Linked DNA regions of Homo sapiens: region 1 is linked to region 2. The links are contacts of gene promoters, found by promoter capture Hi-C in human tissues and cell types (Jung and others, 2019). All regions are on one chromosome and are shown on one strand. The core of a region is centred on a gene start or on the middle of the fragment in contact, and the rest is flanking DNA. Distances in the headings are between cores, read along the strand shown. Region 1 overlaps UNC13C (unc-13 homolog C). Region 2 holds the start of RSL24D1 (ribosomal L24 domain containing 1).

The links. Contacts are between HindIII fragments. The study calls those that stand out against the background at their distance.
Region 1: a fragment that was not itself captured here is called in contact with the fragment with the promoter of RSL24D1 in region 2 in 1 of the 25 tissues and cell types used here (dorsolateral prefrontal cortex).

Annotation. Positions count from the first base shown.
Region 1 is chr15:54,006,151-54,009,055 of GRCh38, forward strand. The region is part of intron 1 of UNC13C (unc-13 homolog C); the gene reads left to right. Among named protein-coding and RNA genes, the nearest start is that of UNC13C, 29 kb to the left of the region's middle. The HindIII fragment of the contact is 6,381 bases long and covers 1-2,905 here.
Region 2 is chr15:55,195,493-55,198,229 of GRCh38, forward strand. It overlaps RSL24D1 (ribosomal L24 domain containing 1), which reads right to left and starts at 1,449. Exons shown (of 6, transcript NM_016304.3): 1 at 1,318-1,449. The coding sequence starts at 1,398. RefSeq lists enhancers at 569-1,460, 1,254-1,413. The HindIII fragment of the contact is 8,846 bases long and covers 212-2,737 here.

The DNA of each region.
Region 1 (2,905 bases), core at 10-2,509, 1.2 Mb before region 2:
ATAAACCACACAAAAGGACTTTGTAGATCCTAAGTGCTATGGAAATATTAGTACTCAGTGCCATTGTTTACTCTTAAACAAAAGTAGCAGCAATGGGAATGAATAAAGTATGTATGTGGGTTGTAGTTGGGTGAAGAAATTCACAAAATAACTGATTAGCTAGAATTAAAGAGTATGCTTGAGTCATTTGACTTTCATTCTTGGGAGAAAGGGATCTTTCTGTTTGTTTTTAAAAAATAGTATATTAGCTTAGGATAAACCTTTTAATCACTTTCTGATTTGATCATTTTTGTTGAAATATTTTAATATTTACTGGTTTATTGCTTTTGCCTTAAAGTAAGGCAAAAAACTAACAGTTCCCCCAAACATTATTTAATGTGTTACTGTGTTCCAGCAATTCTCACTGTCAGAGTCATCCCTGTGATCATCAGTCACATTATATACACATCCTTTTACTCCTTCATGTGGAAAGGATATATAAAACAGGTATAAATCTTCATTGACCTGATAAAGACATTCTAGAGGATGCTTTTTAAAATTTAATCTTTAATATCAACCTATTTGCTCATCATCTGCCTTGTCCCAACTTGTTCCACCTCGACATGCTCCCCTTTATCAATCCTTGTGGCTCCTCACACGCTATTGGTGTATCTGGCTTGCCCTTCCATCTCCAGCTACTCTGGTTTTCTTCTTTGCTGTGTTTGGAGGAGCCTGCTTATAAAGTTACTTGGTCGGTGTGCTGCTCAATGCTGTTTTGCACAGGGGCCCTCTTGCTCAGTTGCACCTTTTCTGCACTTTGTGAGGGTTGCTTCCTTCTCTGTTGCAGTGATTCTGCCCTCCTACCTGATGGGAAGCTTCTTTGAGTCAGCTACTTTTCAAATCACCAAGAATTTACTGTTGAACAGATATGTGGTGAACCATATTTATGTATCACCCTTTTATGTATTTTGAAAGAATTTCTTTTAAATCAGCAATTATAGGGCATTTACTGATGAGGTGCTGTTGTATTGAAAAGCAGAGGCTTTCTTTCTATGTTCTTGTAGGAAAATAATTCTAATCCTAACACAGTCCAGGACACGTAACACAACTTAATGCAAATGAAGGAGCAGTTAAGACTAAGGTTATTCTATTAGTCTAGGATTAAGCAAATAACAGTAAAGAGAAAGTCAAAAAGTCAAGTGATTCAATAGCAAAGACATGGAATCAACCCAAATGCCCATCAAAAATAGATTGGATAAAGAAAATGTGGTACATATACACTATGGAATACTATGAAGCCATAAAAAGGAATGATGTCATGTTCTTTGCAGGGACATGGATGAAGGTGGAAGCCATTATCCTTAGCAAACTGATGCAGGAACAGAAAACCAAACACTGCATCTTCTCACTCATAAGTGGGAGCTATACAATGAGGACACGTGGACTCAGGGAGGGGAACAGCACACACTGGAACCTGTTGCAGGGTGGGTTGTGGGGAGGTAGAGCATTAGGAAAAGTAGCGAAATGTGTGCTAGGCTTAATACCTATGTAATGGGTTGACAGGTGTAGCAAACCAGCATGGCACACATTTATCTATGTAACAAACCTGCACATCCAGCCCATGTAACCCAGAACCAAAAATAACAAGAAAAGCCAGGTAATAAGCATATTTCTATACCAAAGACAGGAATACAGATCAGAATAAGGGCCAGTGAGACAAGCGTGAGTCCTGAGGCCAGGACTTGGGGAGGTGAACTCCTTGGGCTGTACCATAAGAGGTCCTGTCCCTTTGTCTTCTTTGTCTGTCTTGAAAGTTAACCTCTAAATATCCAGCTCACCTGGGTATTTAGTACTTTACTGCCTTTAATAAGGAACATAAAATACTTTACTGCATTTAGTAAGGAACATAAAATTGTTTGTTGATCTGAAAATGCTTTAACTTAATTCTGGTAATGATTTAGCAATAAATTTTTGACTGTTTAAAAGTTCATTATCTCCTTTAGCTCACTAGGGTATTAAATAGTTCTCTTAAAAATGAATATGTTAACATATCTGCAAAACATATTTCCCATTAAACACTAATATTAGTTTCCGAGTTTACACACTTTCTGTTCAAATCTGGGGTTCGGAGTCAAGGCTGTGTTTCATGTTAATCGCATGACCTTAAGCAAGTTTTCAGAAACTAAAGCTTGAGTCACTTTATCTGGAAATTAAAAATACTTATTTTTTACAATTATTGTGAGAATGAAATGAGATAAACTTTAGAAAATTGCATACACAGTGCTTGGTACATAGTAAATAATAATTGAATGTTATTACTAAGGCTTCCTATAACCGCATAGTCTATTGTTTTAATCTCTTTCAAAGACTTTCTTTCCAAAGTCTTAAATCTTATCCCTAAAGTTCATTAATGAAGACAATGTGTAGTTATTTAACTAAAGTTAAAATATCTAGAGAGTAAGTTGGAGCTTTGGAATTCAAGTAGTTGAGATGATGTTATCTTTGCGTTCACCCTCCAGCTACCTCTCATCTACCTTGAGTTTTTCCTGATTTGAGCTATTTTACTTTAAAAAAATGAACTTCAGAGAGAGGAGTAGGTATGTGGGTTTGTATGGGCTGGGTGTAAGGGTTTGTGTCAGTTACCACTGGTAACATTCACTTTACGTACAAATGATTGTTTCATAGACTCCAGGACTAGGACCAAACTACCTTTTTGCTTTGTTTAGCTGTGCAGTTTTTGGTTGTATCTCTTTATCTCTTTGAATCTCTTATCTCCTCATATAATAGGCATAATAATGCCTTTTTTAAAGAGTTTCTGGGAGGATTACGGAGATAATTTAAGTTTCTGAAACATAACAGGTGATCATTAAATGTCATCTTCCTTTCCTATCTCAGTCACTTGTCTGAAGGAAGTTCCACAGCTGGT
Region 2 (2,737 bases), core at 199-2,698:
CATCAACTTAACTTCCACTGTGTCTACCAAATCAATACCCAGGTCTTGACAGTTCTCACGATCTGTTGTTCTAATTCCAATATCCAGCCGACAAGCATCCTGGACGAAAATCACAAAATCGTAACGACATCATGTATAAAACCATACTGCCTACTCTGAATTAGACCCCAACCTGGCAATCTTTTGGTTCATTTTTATAAACTTCTTATCATGTTCCTGAGAGCAAGTATTCAAAATCTTCTAGGTTCTTTTACGTTATCAAACATGGCTTTGGTCCGTCACTTTCAGCTGAATCCCTTGGATCTAATTAATGAGGTCAATATCTTTGATCTGTTACAGAGATATAAGGTGAAGAAGTCAGACTTGTAATTATTTAGCACGTCAAATTCACCTTAATATACAGATTCTTAGACCCTCTTCCCCTCCCCCAAAGATTCCAACTCAATAGATCTGGTGAAAACCAGGAATCTGTAAACGCCCAGTAATTCAGAAGCAAACGTAAGAGATCAAATTCTGAGAAACAATGTGTTTCTCTGAGAAAGAGAGGAACGGGATTCATTCTGTAATGACAGGACAAATTCATGTACCATTCAAAACGTCTTTCACAACTAGGACTCATATTTATTATTTACGTTTACAGACTTATTATACTTGTAGCCCTACGCCCAAGGCTCTATCATCATTTACAATCCAGTCACTTCCTCAAACAAATGTATTTGCTCCGTTCTCTGCCTTTTCTCAAAATGTTCACTTTCCTTCCACTTAGAAGGCCCCCTCCGCTTTCTTCCGCAAAATTCAGGATCCAAGATAAATATCACCTCTATGCTGAGTCTTTCCGTACAGGACCCTCCCCAACTCACCTGCAGTAACTTAATACATAACTCTACCATTAAGCAATACGGAACACTTCCATCAACCTCTACACTTTAGTATGGACCTTAGTGTAATGCCTGACAGGGTATACACTCAACAAAGTTTACTGGATTCAAGAATTTGGCCCAAGTACATGAGTGGCCAAACAGCCCTCACAGACATCCAAGATTCCTGGTAGGCGCTAGCTGGGATCGCTCCTGAAGTTCCTCGCTGCCAACGCCACCCAAGGGTGGCGTGGTGGCCAGCGCCGCTCGGAAGACGGGCAAGGAGAAACCCCCGAAGCGGAACGTTGAGAACGGAGGCCCAGTTAAGCCACCCTCCCAGGGGAACAACGGGAGGAACCCGGGCCAAACACGGCAGACGCAGAAGCACCCAGCACCGAGCCGCCGCGCCCAGGAACCGCGGGAGCTAGGCTGAAGCAAGAACTGGTGTCGACCGCCTTACCTTGCAATCGTTGCGGACGAACATCATGCCGTGTCCAGGATAGATGGGCCCCGAACAGAAATAACACTTTTCGATACGCATGTTGAACCCGCGTGTAACCCCACCAAACAAACGCCAAGCTTGAGAGGAAGTGATGCAACCCCGTCACCGGAAGTTACCTTCTTCCCCCTTCCCCGACCGGAAAAAGGCAAGCGTCCTTCGTTCTCGCGGGTCTGTTAGACCAGATGCGAACACGACTGTGCCTCCGGCGGCCGTGTGGTCAAATGCGCTGCCGTTTGACGCAGGCGCAGAGCTGCAGACTAGACCTGTTCGCTGTTACTTTGGGGAAATGTGGTTCTGCGCCACCTTGTGAACTTGCTCTCACAGCGCCTAGTTTTTTCTCTCTGTGTGTCGGCATTTATGCAAGTATTATGTATCTTTGGTTTGTGCTTTGCCTCGGAGTGCTCTCGAGAGCACTCTCTTAACTCATTTGTCTACTGCCTGCCCTAGACCAGCCCTCGATTCTCGTCCCACAGTGATTTGCAGGGTGTAAGCGGCGAAGACCCTGCAATCCAGCGTTGCTTCGAACATTGCAATGAAAACGGTTGAGTTGCTGATGCTCCAAGGACTTTACCAGCAATTTTTTTAAATATAAAATCGTGTTATCCGCCTCCCCCCCATTTTAATTAATATGCATATGTAGTAAACAAATATTTTCGCCGGAAACTACGACTCCCTCCCTAGACCTGCGGTCTTCCTCCCCAGGGGCAAAACAGTTCCATTTATTACCTGCCAGAGCTTTTCTGTGCATAGGCAAACATGTATATTTGTGTGTTTGCCTGTCTCTACGTCCTCTTCTTTATAATACTAGTTAATATGCTATTTACTCTTTTCTGCATCTTGCTGTTACCTTGTATCCCTTCATTGGAATGTGAGCTCCATGAGGGGCAGGGATTTCAGTTCGTTTGGTTTACAACTACATCCCAGTATCTAGAACAGTCCCTGGCACATAATAGGCATTTGATACATATTTTACTGTAAAAGGGTATTTAACATTCTTTTTCATATATATATGCCATTGTATGAAAGTATTTTAATTGGTCACTAATCGATGGGCATTCTTATCTTTTGATATAATAAGTATCTGTTGGTACGCTTTTTCAGGAGAGGGTTTATGTAGAACTGCTGGATCAGAGGAGCTGGATATAGATAAATAGTTTTAAAATTTGGCAGATAATACTAAATTGCCTTCCAAAAGTTTTTACCAATTAACACTCAGCATCAACAAATAAGATGTCTGTTTCACTACCCCGCTGTGAAAAGTGATCTTTGCCAACCTGAGATGAAAATTTATCTTATTATTATTTCAACTTGAATTTAATTACAAATGATGTTAAGAATCTTTCACAATGTTTTTCAGCTTTTTTCTGTGAATTGCCTG